Regions from separate parts of the Homo sapiens genome. Here region 2 is linked to region 1. The links are contacts of gene promoters, found by promoter capture Hi-C in blood cells and fetal thymus (Javierre and others, 2016). All regions are on one chromosome and are shown on one strand. Each heading gives the region's core, a stretch centred on a gene start or on the middle of the fragment in contact. The rest is flanking DNA. Distances are from core to core; before and after follow the strand shown.

Evidence for each region. Contacts are between HindIII fragments. The CHiCAGO score rates a contact against its expected background, and 5 or more counts as called.
Region 2: a fragment that was not itself captured here is called in contact with the fragment with the promoter of MEP1A in region 1 in 1 of 17 cell types (M2 macrophages); the score reaches 5.5 in M2 macrophages.

What each region holds. Positions count from the first base shown.
Region 1 is chr6:46,791,911-46,795,172 of GRCh38, forward strand. It overlaps MEP1A (meprin A subunit alpha), which reads left to right and starts at 1,479. Exons shown (of 14, transcript NM_005588.3): 1 at 1,479-1,557; 2 at 1,642-1,666; 3 at 1,756-1,806. The coding sequence starts at 1,489. The HindIII fragment of the contact is 4,281 bases long and covers 1-2,461 here.
Region 2 is chr6:47,038,529-47,041,605 of GRCh38, forward strand. The region is part of intron 1 of ADGRF1 (adhesion G protein-coupled receptor F1); the gene reads right to left. Among named protein-coding and RNA genes, the nearest start is that of ADGRF1, 2.3 kb to the right of the region's middle. The HindIII fragment of the contact is 3,019 bases long and covers 173-3,077 here.

The DNA of each region.
Region 1 (3,262 bases), core at 229-2,728:
CTTTAGCATATAGACCTAGAAGTGAAGTTTCTATCTTATGAACTGTGCACATTTCAACTTCATTAGATAGCATCAAATTGATGTCCTACTAGATTTCCTATTTTCTTACCTTCTTGTTGACACTTGATATTGTCAGTCTTCTTAATTTATGCCAATCTTAGCTTGAGGTGGTATTTTACTGCTATTTGAACCTATAATTTTTCTGATTACTTACGAGGCTAAAAATCTTTTTACATATTTATTGGCCATCTGGGTCTTTTGTGAATTTGCTACTCATATTTTTTGTTCATTTTTTCCTTAGATAATCTCCTGTTCTTTTTATTGATTTGTAGAAATTCTTTACATATCCTGAATACTTATTCTTATTCAATTATATGCAGTATACATATCATCTCTCACCTGTGGCTTGTCTTTTAATCATGTTATGTTTTTGTCATAAAGAAGTTTAAATTTTGATACAGTCAAATGTATTATTCTTTTCCTCTGTAATTTCTATGTTTTTTTCATGTTTAAGCAATCTTTCTTGACCTAAAGGTTAAAAATATGTTCCTATATTTTCTTTTTTGAAGTTTATATTTTCATATTTAAATTTTTAATCTATCTAGAATTTATTTTTGTCAATGGTATCAGGTGTACATTTAATGTATTTCCTCATATGGAAATGCAATTATTCCCACATTATTATGAAAGAGACCCAAGTTTCCCTCTTGCCTTTTTGGTTCCTCTTATACATAAAAGCCCTGCATATGCTTGCATCTATTTGGATATTACCTATTCCAGTCTATAGATTCATTTTATCTTTATTTTTGGAACTATTACACTCTAATTACTGTAACTTTACCAAAGCTCCTGATATTCTTTTGAGGCAATTCTTTTCTCTTTATTCAGCCTTTTCAGAATTTTCTTATCTATTCTTCAATGTTTACTCTTTCATGCGAATTGAACCATTTGTCAGCTTGGCAAGTTCCACTGAAAACCCTGTTAGATTTTTTACTAGAATGACAATGAATTTATAGATTAATATTAAAACAATCTATTAATATTTCATACATATGTACATATAGAGAGAGAGTCAGGTATTTTTATGTCCTTCAATAATTGCTTTATAACATTTCCATAAAATTTGAATTTATATTTTATTAGAATTAAATAATAATAATTTTATAAATTATTTTTATTTTTATTGTTAAGGGGATCGTCTATCCTGTTTTATGATATGAATGGCTATGGCTGCCCTATAGGAATGTTATTAGTTCTTATATGCTCATTTCCGTATTAATTTTTCAAACTTTTCCCCAGTCTTTGGAGCTTAAGCATTTAAGGTAAACTTAGTGTTTGTCCTCGAAAGAGTCAATGATGTTATCTTTGACAACCTTTATTGGCACTACGGTACATATGGAAGGGTCAAAGTTTCTAATACGACCGTCAGGGTAAAGTCTAAACGGTATTTATGACAAGGTGTGTGCTAAAATCAGCTCACTTGCAGCAATGGCTTGGATTAGATCCACTTGCATTCTCTTTTTTACCTTGCTTTTTGCCCACATAGCAGCTGTACCGGTAAGTCGAGTCCTGCTTTTTGGATATTTAGAAATATTAATTCTAGTATACATTATCCATTTTCTGTATATTTATTTTTTTCAGATTAAGTATCTTCCTGAAGAAAATGGTAAGAATTAGTTCAAATGCACAGAGAGTGTTTTTGAACTTTTTTCCTTCGGCAAGACTAATAATAATTTTTTTTCTCACTTTTAACAGTACATGATGCAGATTTTGGTGAACAGAAGGATATTTCAGAAATCAATTTAGGTGAGTTCAATTTTTGTGTTATTAAAGTCTTGAAATTACTTGAAACCCAGTGGTGGGATTACTGAACACTTTCCTTCCTAATACTGTATTGTGATTCTCTGGGGGAGAAATATTTTTTGGTGCTTTGTGAGAAATTGCATTTTCTGAAAGATAAAAATGCGGAAAGAGAAGATAGTTAGACCAGACTTTCTAGGAGAGCTAGGAAGTCCTCAATGGATCTAGAAATATGTAACAAGTTTCTCTTTATAAAAATTTTATTTTTCCAATTTGTATTTGGAGGAAAAGGAAAGCAAATAGATAATTATTCCGATTGTTAAAGAAAAATATAAGAATAAGCCTCTGGTTATATTTAGTGGGGAAACAAAACCCAACCCCTCCACTGGCCCATCATATTCACTAACAACTCCTCGGTTGAGACTTAGGGGTGAGTGTAAAGCAATCTCCACTTAGACATCTCATTTACAAATATATTTCTTGAAGAAATTCATCAGTCTCATCCATTACTGAGAGGAGAGAGAAGCTGAGTCATCATCTCTGTTTTCTCTCTGTTGTCCTGCTTCTGAAATGAGAGAGAAGCCTCTGCATTCCCAGTGTCTTAGGTCAGGATTTGTGGAAGCAGAGCTATTCATGATAATAAGTACCTTCAGTTTACAAAAGCTTTTATATGCAATTGCATATTTATTTGTCCAGTCTTGTCGTGGAGTAAGTGCTGTTTTCATTTTTTTGGGAAGCGACAGGTGGCTTCTCATGGGTAGAGTGACTTGCTCAAGATCATAGGTAGCAGTGATGGGGCTTACTTCCAGATCTTGTAGCCCATACCTTAATAGCTCAGTGCTATCTGAAGGCTACAAAACTAACATACCAATAACTAAGGGTCAATTTTTCTGGCTTTGTCTCACTCACAGAGAAGCCAGTTAGTTGATATTTAATTGGAATAGCTGGAGAATGGCTGCATAGGCAGAGCAGAAATAGTTTAGGAAGGTAAATGGGTGAATGCATAAATGGGTCCCAAGACTTCAGAGCCAGGCACTAAAATATCTCTCTTTAGAGTTAGCCATTGTGTAAACAGTTCAGAGAATCTGCTGTATTTTACAACAGAAATGGGATTAGAATTAGAGTTTTTCTAATCTCATCATTATTTATCTAATAAAAATTAATTATTTACCTCTTTGCCATTTTGTACTCTTTAGGCCCACCACCACCTCTGATCCTTGACCCCAGTGGAGAAATCTCATTACCATGTAAATCTTCTTTTTAGGCCATTTCAACCAAACCACCAGGATTGATTGGGTTAGCCATATGGCCAGATTCTAACACCATAAATTGGGAAAATCATATAGAGAAAATTGCCACCTTTTTACCATCTTCTTTTTGCCTCACAAGGCTGAGTAAACGTTTCTTATCCTCCATCCCAAGACCTGCTCCTCTCAGTCCTTTTCATTTCAGTAAATGTGAC
Region 2 (3,077 bases), core at 432-2,931, 250 kb after region 1:
GTGATCAGATCAGGGTAATTAGCATATCCATCATCTCAAACGTTTATCATTTCTTTGTGTTGGGAACATTGAATACTCTCCTTCTAGCTATTTGAAACTATATATTATTGTTAAGTATAATCATTCTACAGTGGTATAGAACACTAGAATTTATTCCCCCTGTCTAGCTGTAAGCTTGTTTAATGAGGCCCTTTTCCTATAAAATTCTGACCTAAATATATTTTTAAAATTCTACTGCTATCTACATCTTTTACCAATTACTTGCTTAATTGATACCTTGTTCAACAACGTAAAAGACTATGATATGCCTAAGAAATATATCATTAAGTGTCTTATCAGAAATAATTAGCTTGATTATCTAAGAGACGAAGCATAGGAAAGTCTCCAAGTAGAGTCGGGCTGCATGCAGTACAAACACAAGTGTAAAAGGTGTTCATGGAAAATATAATCTGCTTAACACAAATTCTCTTTACCCAAAACTTTGCAGGTGTGAATCTGTTGTACTATGACAGGCTGTCCCAACTTCACAAATGTATAATAAATATCTGCTTATCCCAAAACAATAAAGAAACTCTTATCAGGTTTTAAAGTTTTGTCTTCCAAGAAAGAAGAAAAGAATAAGAAAATTTTCTTAAGGACTTTAAAGTCTTTAGATTTGTGGACCTCTGGAGATTAAAAACTGACATTTGCACTAAAACCAAGAAGACACCATGAGGATCTGATAATGCTCATCAATAAAATGTAACTAGAGTTTGCAGTTTTAGGACTGCATACCTCATTGCTGCTCATCTCTGCATTTTCTTTATTCAACTGACTACACATAGGAAATTTATTTTAACTCTATGAAATGCTAGGGCATATTCCACTTCTATTATTAATTCCTATGAATTTTCATTCTCAACATGCCAGGTCCCAGTTTCCATCAGCCACTGACCAGGAGCCTCTATGAGATTATCTGTGGCTTACTGGGGAGGGGATGTGATAAGAAGGCTTCCCTTTCTTAGTGGTTTTGTGTACTATGGGTTGAGTTTATCAAGGCTTGAACCCAGCTGTGAATGGAAGAGTGTATGTTTCAGACCACGATGCTATAGACCTTTTGTACTATCCCTCCAAGATCCTAAATTGTTTTCACATCTATTAAAACCATGTATCTCTGGGCATGGTGGCTCACGCCTGTAATCCCAGCACTTTGGGAGACCAAGGCCGGTGGATTACTTGAGGTCAGGAGTTTGAGAAGAGCCCAGCCAATATAGTGAAACTCTGTCTCTACTAAAAATACAAAAATTAGCCAGGCGTAGTGGCAGATGCCTGTAATCCCAGCTACTCAGGAGGCTGAGACAGGAGAATTGCTAGAACCTGGGATGTGGAGGTTGAGGTGAGCCGGGATTGTGCCGCTGCACTCCAGCCTGAGCAACAGAGTGAGAAACTCTGTCTCAAAAATAAATAAATAAATAAATAGATAAATAAAATAAAATAAAACCATGTATCTATCCAGTCAAGAAATCTGAAGGCCTTGAAATCTTGCGAGCACTACTCTGCTAAGACAAACACAATTTAGGAAAATCCCAAGACATATGTATTTGGCAACAGCGTTTCCCCTTCTCTACAAGCTATGGGTGTTCCCTGCCAAAGAACATTAAAAAGAGAACCAGGTGGCTGAGCGTGGTGGCTCACGCCTGTAATCCCAGCACTTTGGGAGGCCGAGACAGGAGGATCACGAGGTCAGGAGATCAGGAAATTGAGACCATCCTGGCCAACACAATGAAACCCTGTCTCTAATAAAAATACAAAAAATTAGCCAGGCATGGTGGTGGATGCCTGTAGTCCCAGCTACTCGGGAGGCTGAGGCAGGAGAATGGCGTGAACCCGGGAGGTGGAGCTTGCAGTGAGCCGAGATCACGCCACTGCACTCCAGCCTGGGCGACAGAGTGAGACTCCGTCTCAAAAAATAAAATAAAATAAAAAAAAAAACAGGCAAAATATTTTGAAAGTTACAAATATAAACATTTAGATTAGGTAGGTTACACAGCACAGTTTCCTAAGGGTGTCCTTAAGCAAAATTGTGAATTCAGTGACACTTGTCCCGGGGATGCCACTCCCCCACTTTCTGACTTGTGCACCCTTGTGACGCACACCCCACCACTGCTAATGCCCTCAGATACCCAGTGCCCTCTTGCTCCTGCCAGTTTTTACTTTACTTACTCTCAGCCAAAGCACTAAAATCATTTATTTATATCCAAATTTGAATGAATGTGTTCATTTACTTTTTTAAAGAGATGTTTGCATTCCTTTAGTTGTGTAATGAAAGACATTAGAAGGCACATTGTTGTGAAAGTATGGTGCTTTCCTTGCCCTCAGCCCAGCAACAGACAGACCCTGTTATTGGGACACTGTCCCTGTTTTTTAAGAAATTTACTCTACTTTTGGAGAAGAAAGACATACAAGGCATCCAACAATAATTCACATCAGCTTGGGGTTGTGCACAAAAGGTGAGTTTGCAAGTTGAGCTTGTCAGACTCCACAGGCATACACTCCTATTTCCAATCTTAACGCTTATTGGCACCATTTTACAAATGAAATAACCAGGATAAGACAACTAAATAATTTGCTCAATGTTTTACTACTTGTCAAAGGTTGAATAAAGTATTATGGGACCATTATTAGAACACTGTTGTCAATTTGGGTTATGGTTAGATAATGAGTGGTGTTTTCTTAATGACAACAGAGCATAATAAAAGGCTTGTGTTAATATTCTAACATATTAAAGAATGTACTTTTATTTATTTTTTGTTATTCTTGCCTCTGTTTGTAATTTCCAGCCCATGAATGCTATTATCAAGTTGAGCTTAATGGATCTCAGCATGAAAAAGCCAAGGTCATCACTTCTCCACACCTCTCCCACCTTGACCTTCTTTCTATATCTCCTTCGGTATTTTTCCTTCATGTAGTCTCTGGCATGGTACATTACATAGGCTATCAGGTTTACATAAATGGATTTTTCATGAAAACAAAGAAAAGAGAAAAGAAAAATTATATATTTTCAAGGCCTCTACTAAGAAAATACAGTGTGACATTTT